3 separate regions of the Homo sapiens genome follow, and regions 1 and 3 are each linked to region 2. The links are contacts of gene promoters, found by promoter capture Hi-C in human tissues and cell types (Jung and others, 2019). All regions are on one chromosome and are shown on one strand. Each heading gives the region's core, a stretch centred on a gene start or on the middle of the fragment in contact. The rest is flanking DNA. Distances are from core to core; before and after follow the strand shown. Region 1 overlaps PCSK5 (proprotein convertase subtilisin/kexin type 5). Region 2 holds the start of PCSK5 (proprotein convertase subtilisin/kexin type 5). Region 3 overlaps PCSK5 (proprotein convertase subtilisin/kexin type 5).

Region 1 (4,419 bases), core at 72-2,571, 350 kb before region 2:
TAATGAAAAGTGCAATAGCTACATCCTTGTAGTTGAGAAGTTTTCCTTGCAGGGAATTATTTTCCAATATTTTATATATTTCAGTGAACAGCGACTACTATCTGGGATGTCATTGCAAAATGATGCTCTGTGAATAACTACAATTCACATTGTGTTTAACTACAATTCAAAATGTGTTTAACTTTCCCAAAGGCTCCTTTTGGTATCTGTGAAAGCTCTCAGACTTGGGGGCTATAGAGAGCCCATGAGAATAAACACATGCATAATGATCGACACTTTTTATGAAAGTGCAATCTTTTAAAATGATTTTGAATTGTTATCGGTCACATGCTTGCGTTAACCATCTAAGGTCTGAATTTCTGCAGAGCTGCCAATGCCGATAATGACAAGCTTATTGAAGCACTAGACCAAGCACACTTCTTTGACTCTTTTACGTGCATTCCTGAGGGTTCCTGACTTTTGTCAACATTGGATTCTATAAGGAAAGAATCAGCAGTGCCCACAGCCTAACAGACCATGGGAATTTGTTTCTGGAGGGAATGAAAAAGTCTAACTAGTTACAAAGCATCACAATTAGTTACAAAGGATTCTAATCCGTTAGGAATACAAAAACAACAATAAGATGACTACTGATGCATCTAGAGGTCTCCTACTCCCACCCTCCCGGAGTTTTTGTGCTGAGTGTGCTCGGGGTATCCATCTTCTCTGAATCAGATTTCCCACATGTCCCTGCCTCTGAAGAGCAGCTGATCTGTGTTACTCAGAATAACCGGGGTCTAGGGTTCATTCGTCATGTGATCTACCACATGGAGATCCAGAATCATTGACCTTCAAGATGCAAGGCTGCTGAATTTGTGGATAAAGATAGCACTAACCCCATGTTGCAAGTGCAGAAACTGAGAGTCAGTATAATGTTAAATTGACCCACGTGAAATTGCCGATATTTAACTATTTTTTACCTGTGAGCATGGCACTTTCACATCATTTATCATAATATTTCTTATTTATTCAAAGCCATAGTTGAAATACATTTTCTTTTTTTTGAGACAGGGTCTCACTCTGTTGTCCAGGCTGGAATGCAGTGGCATGATCTCAGCTTACTGCAACCTCCTCTCCTGGGCTCAAGTGATCCTCCCGCCTCAGCCTTTCAAGTAGCTAGAACCACAGGTGCGTGCCACCATGCCCAACCATTTTTTTTTTTTTTGTATGTTTTGTAGAGATAGGGTTTCACCATGTTGCCCAGGCTGGTCTTGAACTCCTGGACTCAAGTGATCTGCCTGGCTTGGCCTCCCAAAGTTCTGGGATTACAGGCGTGAGCCACTGTGCCTCGCCTGAAATGCAATTTTTAAAACATGCTTTTGGATTATGGGCTCTCAAGCTACCTATTTTGCTAATTGTGATTTTCTACTAGAAGGCTACTGGTTCCCATAGGACTAAGAAAATAAAAAGGGCTTCCACAGAGGTGGTGGAAGAAAATATTCTGCTGTTTCTAAATTAGACATAGAAGAGATTATCCTCTAAGGAAAGAAGAGGGTTTGGAAGGACTAATGTGCATTTGGTGATTCTATAGCTATCGATCAACATTGTGGAGCACAAGACTCTGATCTGGTGGAACCTGGAATCTCTGAAGATCACAAGAGGGTCATCCTTCCAAGTTATGTTCTCAGCCACTTTATGAAACCGTTGCAAATGCCACTTCCATCCACCATGACTCATTCAGAAAAAAATCTTTTTTTCAGAGTTCCCCAATTTCTCTGGTGTAGGTAGGAAGATTTGAGGGAGAGCAGTGAGGAAGTCTACCTCTTCTCCATCCCCTGCACCTTCACAAGACATCAACTCAGGATCCAGATGCTTAGAGGGAGTCTAAGGCTCTAAATATGTATTTGTGGAATTTGGCAATATTCAATTTTTCCCCTATATCCAACTGGATCATCAATCTTAAAAATTAGCAACGACGGGCCCAGATTTAGAAGGAAGTGTTCTTCAATCCCATTTTTATTGTTTGGACATGGCTTTATTGAGGTGCCTCTTTGGGTGTTATAATTTGGGTTTAAAGAACAGAGATTTCAGGGGGTCTCAGTGTTTAAAATACATAGACCTACAAAGGGAGGTCACTTAGATGCCTTGGCCATGACCAGCTTTTCCGACAGGTTTGGTCCAGGACTATGTCAAGATTCGGTCAGATTTTGAGTAGCCCTGCTCAATTAGTTATGGATGATAATTTGGATAGCTCAGAAATTTAAATACCATGCATAAATTTTTGGCTACTTGCCCAGGGTCTTCGACTTTAAATTATTATAATAGTATGTAGACGAAGCTATTTCCAGCGGTAGAAGGGCTGATACTTTTGTTAGGCACCAAAAACTTTCCTGGGAAAACAGGCGACAAGAGTTCAAATGGGATAATAGGGGACAAGAGTTTGGATTGGCTTTTGTTTATTCTGGAGAGTAATTCACTTTTACCAGAGCATTTCTTGGCAGCTGATTCTGTTAGGTGAGAAAGTGGACCAGCATGATGATATTGGATGTCCATAGAAGAAAAGAAAGGGTGAGGGTTGAAGGCATGAGGCGAAAAGGACTGCTGGAAAGGATAAAAGAAAGGTGCAGGGATTCTGAAAATAAACTTGATGAAGTTGACTACCACATTTTGCTTACTGTAGCTGTTGTGTGATTGATGGAATTTAGCTTTGGGTAGTTTGGTAGTGAATAAATCTGGAAGAGAATTGGAGTGAATCCTCAGCAATATAGCTGGAGATGTACACTTCCAAGAGGCATCATACCTAAACCTTAATGAAGTCACAATTAAACAAGGGATGCAATCTCTACAAATTGGTAGGAGGGGCTTATGAAGGTTGATGGGACACCCCGGCTGGAGGATTTTTAGCCTTTTATTAAAGCTTCCATTTATGGATATGGAACTTCTTCAATTAAGTCATCCATCTTCTTCAGCACTGTGTTATCAAGGTCTCTGCTACACTTGCTTCACTAATGCTTCTTAAGGACATCACACTCTCAAGGAGGCAGAGCTACCTCAGGGCTTGGTAAACAACACCCCACCTCGAGGAAGCCTTCTCTGCTCATTACAGCTGGAAGTGATGCTGCTTCTCTGATCTGGGATAGGATTTCTACCATGCATTTGGTCTTCATCTATTATTTTCTTGTTTTGTAACATATGAGGACAAACCTCCTTGTTAGACTGTAATTCCTTGAACATGAGTATCATGCTATCATTTATCTCATTTTCTCTGGCATTCAGGGCATAGTAACTTGTAAATAGAAGGGATGCAATAAATGTTTAAGATAATGGATTAAACACAATTTCAAATAGAAAAAAAAATAGAAGAAATGTCAGTGCATTTATAGGTAGATTGGTCCAAGTAGTTGTAGGATGCTTAGAAGACTAGACATTTGTTTGGTATCTAAACTTCTTTCTAATTTTGTGCTATATATGGAGATGTAAAAGTGATTTTGGATGCCATCTTGTACTTTCTCTTCTTCTTCTTCTTCTTTTTTTTTGTTGCAAATAAGAAGAGGCATAAAGAGGTGAAGTGACTGGTTTAGTACCTTCTCGTCAGTAACAAAGGCGGGACTTGAACCCACATTTTCTGACTGCTGGTCTTAACATTCCTTCCATTGAACCATTCATTCATTAATTCATTCAGTTATTTATTATGAACCTTCCATATACCAGACACTGTGCTGATGCTTAAAATACAGCAGAAACAAGGTAGAAACCATGCCATGCTCTTATGGGGCATAGAAACTTATGGACCAAATAGACATCAAATGTGTTGAGGCTCATGAAGGGGGAAGTGCAGCGTTCCCAGGTTGCTGATGTGAAGGCCTAATCTAGGCAAGGAGGTTAGGGCAGCCCTCACTGAGGAAATGATGTTGAAACTAAGATGGAATAGGAAGACATCAGCCAGAGAAGAGGAAACATCTCAAATGAAGTCTTAGGAGCAAGAGAAACTCAAATGCTCAAAAGACTAAGCAGCTACAAACAATAACAGTAATAATAATAAAAATAAAAACAGTTAATATTCCAAGTGCTCACCATGTGGCTAGCCCTGTTCTAAATGCTTTATTGTTTTATCTCATTTCATGTCATTTAATTTTCATAAAAACTCTTAAAGAAGTAAGCATTATCATCACCTTGTAGATGAAGAAGGAAACAGAATAAGGCAGTCTAGAAGTAAAATATGACAGATATTTGTCATGTTTTGACACATGAAACACAAAGCAATGAATTTATATACAGAAATGTGTTATCTCCTGATCTCCTGCAAATGCCTGGTACTCTCAATGTGTTCTTCATTTTTCTTGGTTTATTTCAAGGAAGAATAAAGATCAATAATTCTCTTCCACCAGAAAAATGATGTAAGGATGATGATGCTGGTAACTGACAGCCTCAGGATCAGTG
Region 2 (4,250 bases), core at 93-2,592:
GGACCTCGCTTAAGGCGAGAAAGCCTAGAGGTCTCCCCTAAATCTGCACTCACACCGGGGCCGGCCCCCTCTTCCCTCCCCCTCCTTTCTCCTCCCTTCCAGCTCCAGTCCCCGCGCCTCCGGAGTCTCCAGCGCCAGAGGTTCTCTCGCCCAAGAGGAAACTTCTTTCTGGGCTAAATTCAGGTCCGAGCAGGAAAGGCTTTCCCTTCCCCGCAGGCATCAGAGGCGCGCTCACCCCCTATCCCCCAAAAGACCTAATTTCCCCCTCTCCCCACGATCACCCTCTCTGAGACTGCCTCAGATTACTAGTGCTACTCGACTTTTCAGGTCAAAAGGTCCAGCCGTCTCTGAAGCCACCACGGGGGCACTCTGGATTTTTCCCGAGACCCTACCAGTCCCGCGTGGCTTGGAAAAGACAAGTAAACAAAACACGGACCCGGCAACTCTGGGGTGTGTGTGTGTGTGTGTGTGTGTGTGTGTGTGCGTACGCGCGCGCGCGCAGGAGACAGAGCATCGCCCAAGAGTTAGGGCAACAGCTGCTAGAGCACATCTGGAAGAGGGGGAGGGGGTTCCACGCAGAGGGGACAAGAAGCCCCCAGTGGCTTCAGGGCCGAGGGCTGGGCTAGCCTGTAGTTCGTTACCTGTCCTATGTTGATGAATCCGTACTTGCTGGCGATACGGTTGGCCTCCGGGAAGCCCCCGGCGATTTTGACTGCCCAGTGGTTGGTGTAGACGCGCGTCCGACACACGGGGAGCAGGCAGCCCCCGAGCAGCGCCAGCACGCACAGCAGGTCCAAACGTCCCGGGCAGCAGCAGCGGCTCCCCCAGCCCATGGTCCCGGCGCCTCGCTGCTCCCTCGCTCGCTGGCTGGTTCCGCGCACTAAGGGCGCGCACAACTAACTTCTCCGGCCTGCGCCGCCCGGCGAGCAGCCCCGGGCCGCCGCAGCTCGCAGCCCCGGGCGATCGGCAGGAGGCGGCTAGCCCCGGCAGGGAGCAGAGCAGCGAGCCTTACGCCGGCTCCTAGACCATCCCTGGGGCTGCCGGGACCTGTGCTCCCAGCTCTCCGGCCCGTGGGGCGCTCGGCGATGCTCCCCGGCTCGGACGCAGGAGGAGGCTGAGTGGGGCGGGCGTCCTCCGCAGTTGGGTTTCGCCCGGCTTGGCTCCCGGACTCTCCGACTCGGTCTCGCTCCTCCCGGGGCCCCCGAGCGCGGCGGAGATGACCAGCGGGAGCGGTACAGGCAGCGACCGGGCGCCCCCTCTGCTGGCCCGGGCTCCAAACGCTCGCTTGCTCGCTCCCAGCGCTCCCTCCGGCTCCGAGCAGCGCGCGAGGATTCTGAGTGGCAATGGCAGCAGCTCCTGCTCTGCATAAATGACTTCCCCCGCCCCCCTTAACACCCCTCCTTTCCCACATCGCCCTCCTCCTCTCCCTCCTCCGCCCTCTTGAAAGCGGCCGCAGCCAGGCGCTGACGAGGTCCTAGCGCCTCCGGGTTCGCCCAGCTGTAACCTCCAGGGTTCCGGGCAGTAAAGGCAAGTCTTTCCAAAGGACTGAGAAGAGCGCTCCGAGATCGTGGTTTTACTCCCTTCTCTTCCCTCCCTGCTGGATTTGTATGAATTTACCGCCACTTCCCGAAAGACTAAAGAAATTTACACGCCGGTGCGAATTAACCGCCCTGAAGATTCATTCATCCTCGTTCTAAACGTCCTTAAATAACTAGGCATTTAAGGAGGTCACTTACGTGTCAATTGCCGAACAAATAACTCGAGATTTTCACTTCGTTAATTCTTCATGCTTTTCAGCAGCTGTTTATTTTACACTTTCTGCTCCCGGGAGAAGCTACCACACAGGACAGTAAGTCGCATCGACTCCTAGAATTGGCTCGAAAGCCAAGTCTGTTGCCTGCTCACTTTCGAAATCTGCGATACTAGGCAACGCCACGGGAGAGTACAATTCCGGCCTTGGAAGTGAGGAAAGATGTTTCTATGAATATTTGGTGTGCTAGTGGATGGACATGTTGGGCCAAGGAAATAACTCCATTCATTTGTTGGATTGCGTCTGACGAGGGCTTCTTTTTCTCCACCAAGGGAAAAGTTTCCCAACTTTTCCAAGCACAGTCCTGTAACAGTGAAAGACTTTAATATGAAAAAGACCACAGAGGAAGTTCAGATGAGATATGTGGCGGCGTCACCTTCATTACTCTATCATGCACTGTGACTGCAGCAGGCAGGAGGGAGCTCAAATTAACCCTCTTCTCGCTTCTCCTTTACAACCTCCCTGCCTTCCTGGAGCGGGGGTGGGGCACAGGGTGATTTACTGTGACAAGAAAAATTATCCCGTATGAAATAATTCAACTGACTTTAAAAGTATTCACTATATCCCTAACTGTCCTCCTTTCTCTCCTCCTACCATGCCCTATTTCTTTCTTCCTGTTAATTTAAATGTGTTTGAGATTAATTAACTCATCCCACCTATAGCTTTTGGTACTGATTTTTTAAAATCTGAAAGATACCTGCAGACTTAAAATTCCACTAGTACCTTTGAGCATAGCATTTGACATTTTACATATTGTATAAGGTATGCTATATTATTTAATCTTGAAAACAAACCCACAAAATAACATCATCCCCACATTATAGCTGAAGAAATAGAAGATCAGAAGAACTAAAACATGTGCAGAAGTGTATGTATTTTATTCGTTTATTTATTTGACTGATTCAACACATCTGTTTTGAGCACCTAGCATGTGCAATGAATTGTGCTGTACACTGGAGAAAGGGGAAGGGGGAGGCACAAAAAATTAGTGGAATTCAGAATCTCTGAATACTGTAGAGTAAATGTGGTTTATTATTGAAGGTATGTATGTATGTATGTATGTATGTATGTATGTATGTATGTATGTATGTATTTTTGAGACAGAGTCTCGCTCTGTCGCCCAGGCTGGAGTGCAGTGGTGTGATCTTGGCTCACTGCAGCCTTCGCCTCCCGGATTCAAGCGATTCTCCTGCCTCAGCCTCCCCGAGTAGCTGGGATTACAGGCTGGCTAATTTTTGTATTTTTAGTAGAGACAGGGTTGGCTGGTCTCGAACTCCTGATCTCAAATGCTCTGCCTGCCTTGGCCTCGCAAAGTGCTGGGATTACAGGCATGATCCACCATGCCCGTCCTATTATTATTATTATTATTATTATTATTTATTTATTTATTTTTTTGAGACGGAGTGTCGCTCTGTTGCCCAGGCTGGAGTGCAGTGGCGCGATCTCGGCTCACCGCAAGCTCCGCCTCCCGGGTTCACGCCATTCTCCTGCCTCAGCCTCCCGAGCAGCTGGGACTACAGGCGCCCGCCACCAGGCCTGGCTAATTTTTTTGTATTTTCAGTAGAGACGGGGTTTCACTGTGTTAGCCAGGATGGTCTCGATCTCCTGACCTTGTGATCCGCCCGCCTCGGCCTCCCAAAGTTCTAGGATTACAGGCGTGAGCCACCGCTCCCGGCCCTATTATTATTATTTTTAAGAGGAAAACATAAGCACTATGCTTGTGCTTTAGAGTTTTGGTACAGTCTCCCTGCTAGCCAGTCCCTGTAGACACATCTCTTCCTGCTTCCCTAGCCATGGAGTCCGAAAGCTCACAATCTATTACAACACTGTTAACTCTGACAATCTGCATCTATGCATAGGGACATTGGATTACCCCTCTTGAAGATGGTAAATTTCAGATGGGATAAGACTTCAGTCAAGGTCCACATCTCAATACACATATAAGGGACAGTCAATCTCTCTTTTTTTTTTTTTAATTCAGAATTGTGGGCATTTCAGGTAGGAGGAAGGACCTGTCTCACCGTGATCCACAGAAGGGTTGCCACTACATAAGGTACTTTGTAACAAGTTTGAAGGATGCCGTACGGGTTTCTCTCTGGGACTCTGGAGCTGTTAATTGTTTAGGACTACAAAGGCAGCACAAAATGCTTCTCTTTCAAAGCCTTGTTGTCTCTGGGCTTCAAATTCTGAATGAAATGGAGAGGAATCACTGCACCCGGTTTTCTGGAGCCTGGAGATTTTTTTCTTGGGGTGGAAAAATTGATCATTAATATTTTTTTCTCCATGGTGTCTTTCTCTTTTTCTTTCCACTAGCACTCTTTCCTTCTGTGAGCATGCCCTGGTTGGCACACACAAATGTAACATTCACTGCATTGAACATGAGAGAAAATTGGAAAATGAGGTAGGAAGTGGGCAAACCACTTTTCTGCTTTGTAAACTA
Region 3 (4,502 bases), core at 409-2,908, 310 kb before region 2:
TCGGAGGCTGTTGCAGCAGTCTGGGATGGCAACAATGGTGGTTTGGCCACAGTCACAGCTATGGAGTGGGCAGAAGTAGACCATTTAGAGATATATTTGGAAATACAGTGAATGCCATTTACTGAGGTGGGAGAGATTTGGTGGTAAAGATGGTCAGGGGGTTGGGGTGTCTGAAGTCTATTTTGGACGTGTTAATTTTGAGATGCCTATTAGACAGCTGAAGGGAAATGTCAAGTAGTTAATTGAATCTACAGGTGTGAATCTTGAGGGAAGAGATCAGGAATCTATATATATTTTAAGAGTCATCAGCATATAGATGGTATTTAAAACCATGAGATTGACAAAGATCTCCTTGGAGAGAGTGTAGAAGGCACAGGGAAGAAGTGAGGATGATATCCAGGAAGACATCCACATATTGCAGTCCCGTACGCTGCCCTTCCACGCCCCACCCCAGTGACCTCCCTGACCACCACCAAGGATAGGACATATCTCTCTCTCCTCTTTTCTGTTCCCTAGAGGGTGAATAGTGACTTCCTCCCTCCTTTGCAGGGCTATGAAGATTCTCAAGATCCTAGATTCTCCAATCTCTGCAGGTCTCACATCATATCAAGCATATTAAAATTCACCTTTATTCTACATTAACATTAATTATAGTCATGTACCATATAATGACGTTTTGGTCAATAACAGACTGTATATATGACAGTGGTCCCATAAGATTATACCATATATTTACCATACCTTTTCTATGTTTAGACACACAAATACTTACCATTTTGTTACAACTGCATGCAGTATTCAGTACGGTAACATGCTGTACAGCTTTGTGGCCTAGAAGCAATAAGCCATCCCATACAGCTTAGGTGGGTGGTAGGCTATGCCATCTAGGTTTGTGTAAGTGTGTTCTATGATGTTTGCATGATGACAAAATCACCTAAGGATGCGTTTCTCAGACATATCCCTGCTGTCAAGTGACAATGGCTGTAAGTATACTTTCTTAGTTGCAGTGGACTAGTTTGACATGATCCACTTTGTAGATATTTAATAAAGATATCATTTGATTTTGATCTTTGCAGTTTTATTTGTACATTTTAGAGTCAACTCCATTTTTAAGGTTTCATGCTATTTTTGGAAGTCCTTGGGAAGCTTGTAGTGCAAGGGCATGGAACCTTAGCACGTGATTAGTGAAGTGAGCTTGCTCCTTTGACTCCTGACAATATTTTATACCCTTTAAAGGCACTTAAACGGATTCACATTGTAACCATGTGTTTTATGTCTAAGTGTCTGTTTCCCTCATTAGACTATAAGTTTGAAGAGGGCAAGAGAACACTCAGAACCTAGTTTGTGGCGGGGACTCAATAATATTTATTTATGGAAGCAACTCTTTTGGAATGAGAAAAAGTCAAGCCCAGGCACACAGTGTGCTTTCTATCTTCACTTGAGAAAAGGCTCTTACCCCCTTGCCTTGCAACATATGTGATGTGGACTTGCTTTTCTCCAGCACTCTTAAAAAGGAATCAGTGTTGTACAGAATGTTGAAGCTGTGGGCTTGAGTCCCAGCCACACCCCTTAACTAGCTGTGCCTCTTGCATCAGAAAATGAATGTCTATCGGCCTGATTTTTGTGTGGGCCAAATTAAATAAATCCATTTTAGTAAAACTCTGTGAAGCTTAAAACACTGTATTTTTAAAATAATGTACTGTTTTCTAAAATGAAAAAAGTAAAAGATCTTACAACTCAAGCCTCAGGGAACGTTTCTGGAATTTTCTAGAAAGTGGGATACAAAATATCTTTTGTTGCCTGACACCTGGCCCTAAAAAAACCACAACTGGATCCAACAATGGTCCTTTAGAGAAGAGACCTTGTAAGAAAGTCCTTTGGTAATAAGCCAGTCAAACTGTCCTTGTAAGTCCCTTGGAGGTAGAGAACGGGAAGGAGTGCTGGCCATCCCAGGTCACATTCTGGTCCGCTGAAACGTAGTGAGGCTGCATAACTGCATCTTTATTGCTCAATAACTGAATCTGGACCTGATCTTCACCTCTAGTGATGAAGAGGAGACAGGATTATACAGATTAGCCCCATTTCTAGGTGCCAAGTAGTTCTAATGAGCTACAGTGAAATTAAGTCCACCTTGGCTATGCCCTGCTAAATATGTCAAAGGCTCTAAAGTATTCTGTGTGAAAACTTCAGATTTCATGAGTCTGCAACAAACATAACATTTAGAAAGGGATGTTCACCAGAGAAGAGAAGAAGATCTGTGCCGTCTTCTACACATATTGGGCGCAGGGCCCTGGGCTGGGTGAGGTCACACTGCAGCTGTCCTCTGTTCCACCTCTACCATCTTGTGGTTGGGGACAGAAGGAGGGGGGGTATTAAATTGGCTGAGCCATAGTTTAAAATTGCCTCCAATATGCAATTTCTGTTCAACACATTGCCGTCTGCCATTGCTCTCTCTGTGCAAGGCTGAATGATAATATGGAAGCTGTTAAGAATGAATGTCTATTTTATATTTTAGCGGCATGACATTCTTTTTACATGAGGGGGATAAGATGTTATGTATTTATTTCCATACTCAGATATGTTGCAAGTATTGATCACTTTGATTGAGAAACTTTAGTAGTTACTATAGCAATCACTTCCCCTTCTTTACCAAGTACTCAGTTTGTAAGTTCTTTAAAAATGAAGGGTAGCTTATTCAGCGGAAAATAATGAATCTGGTAGAAGAGATCAGCAGTGTGACAAGCCTCTGATAACTGGAGTGGAAAGTGAGTGATAATTAGCAGTCTCCCATGGATGTGGGGATTCAGAATGGACACACTATCCTTCTTCTACAAGGTGTACAAATGTAGATTTTTCTGGACTAAACCACCAAATTTTGAATCACTGTTCTTTGTAGCAATAGATAATTAGATTAAAACCATGAGAACATCTTACTTCCCTAAGCACCTTGTATGCAGCAAGTTCACTGGTAACTGGAGCAAGTTCATTGGTAATGTTCTTCCCGCTCTCTTCCTGTCTTCCCAGGTAAGACTCATCCATGCTTCAGGGACCAATTCTAGCTCTACCTGCTTTAGGGAACTGACCAGTCCAATTCAAAGGAATCTCTGCCTGTTCTGAACTTAACAACTCAGTGTACCACTCATTTGAGATTTGGCATGTACTACTTGCTGTTAATTGTCTTAATGTTAAATTGTATTATTATTATGAATCTGGATATGGAATCTCAATCAATTTGTTTCAAGTCTATGTGGCCCAGTTTTCTCATGTGTAAATGGAGGATAATACATTCACCTCTAGAGGAGTCCTTCTGAAAATTGAGAGAGAACATATCCACATCAGTGTGTATATACCTACTCTATATTCTCACATTGTGTAGTACATAGTAAGTGATCAATAAAATTAATTTCTCTCCATCCCTATAATGGGACTTCAAAGCAGTAGAGGCTCTTTCTCATACCTGGTTGTTATCTCCAGATCTTTAAACCTAGTTGGAGCTCAATTTGTTTGTGGCTTTGGCTGGTTTACAATTTCTTTTCCCCAAAAGGCAGAGCACTGAACCTTTAAGACTAGTAATTGCATCTCAGGCACGGTTCAGAAAGATCTATACTCCACTGCTGTTTTTAGCTAGCTCGTTCAGTCCCACCCCCTGGTATGTACCGGAGATTTATTTTAGACAAAAATCATCTTCTAGACATCCAGCCAATGCCGACTTTACGCAAGATGTCAGCAAATTGAACAAAGCCACCTTCCTCTTTAACAGCTTTTACACTGCCTACCTCCTTGCCCCCAGCCATGGCTCCTAACCCTACAGACACATACTAGTGGGTGTGCTGCGCACTACAGGAAGAATGGGACCAGGTGGGCCCTGTTCTGGGGTCCAGCGTCTGTACAATCTGATAGAAACAATACCAAGCCTTTATGGATTTTTTTTCACAGCCTTGCTTTCTAAAGATGGTATTTAATATATATTCATGACCAAATCTAACCCATTCCTTTCTTACATTGCTGTTTCTCACTCCTTCTCAATTCCCTCCTCTGCTCACTCTTTCTTTTCCAACTTTATTTAGATGTTTCATGCACCTCCACCCTTTCCTTCATATTCAGCTTCTATGTAGAAACAGGGAAGTTTCTCATGACCTTACCCTTTCAGAGAAGTTTATACGTGGGTATGAACAGATCAAATAAACAGGAACTTAGGTTAATTTAATAGAAAAAATAAAATATGGAATAACATTGATTTTGGCCAGTATCAGTTACAACCGTTCTACTATATTTTACAAAAAAACAACTGAACATTTTACACATGTACAGTATTTTTCAGTAAAAGTGGATTTGGATTTAACAATGGGTCACTAATTGAAAATAAAAAGACAAAAGAAAACAGAAATAGGACTTTTGTCTCTAGAAGGTTAGAGCATTTGTTGAGTCTCCAAACTTTGTACTATCCATTACATATATCTCATTATGAATATATATATTTATACATAATATATAACATTAAC

Evidence for each region. Contacts are between HindIII fragments. The study calls those that stand out against the background at their distance.
Region 1: a contact is called between a fragment that was not itself captured here and the fragment with the promoter of PCSK5 in region 2, in 1 of the 25 tissues and cell types used here (mesendoderm cells).
Region 3: a contact is called between a fragment that was not itself captured here and the fragment with the promoter of PCSK5 in region 2, in 2 of the 25 tissues and cell types used here (lymphoblastoid cells and mesenchymal stem cells).

The regions. Positions count from the first base shown.
Region 1 is chr9:76,234,399-76,238,817 of GRCh38, reverse strand. All of the region lies in intron 22 of PCSK5 (proprotein convertase subtilisin/kexin type 5), which reads right to left. Among named protein-coding and RNA genes, the nearest start is that of RFK, 160 kb to the left of the region's middle. The HindIII fragment of the contact is 5,301 bases long and covers 1-3,971 here.
Region 2 is chr9:75,887,765-75,892,014 of GRCh38, reverse strand. PCSK5 (proprotein convertase subtilisin/kexin type 5) reads right to left here and starts at 1,342. Exons shown (of 38, transcript NM_001372043.1): 1 at 642-1,342. The coding sequence starts at 833. The HindIII fragment of the contact is 15,443 bases long and covers 1-4,250 here.
Region 3 is chr9:76,195,570-76,200,071 of GRCh38, reverse strand. All of the region lies in intron 20 of PCSK5 (proprotein convertase subtilisin/kexin type 5), which reads right to left. Among named protein-coding and RNA genes, the nearest start is that of RFK, 200 kb to the left of the region's middle. The HindIII fragment of the contact is 3,635 bases long and covers 1-3,475 here.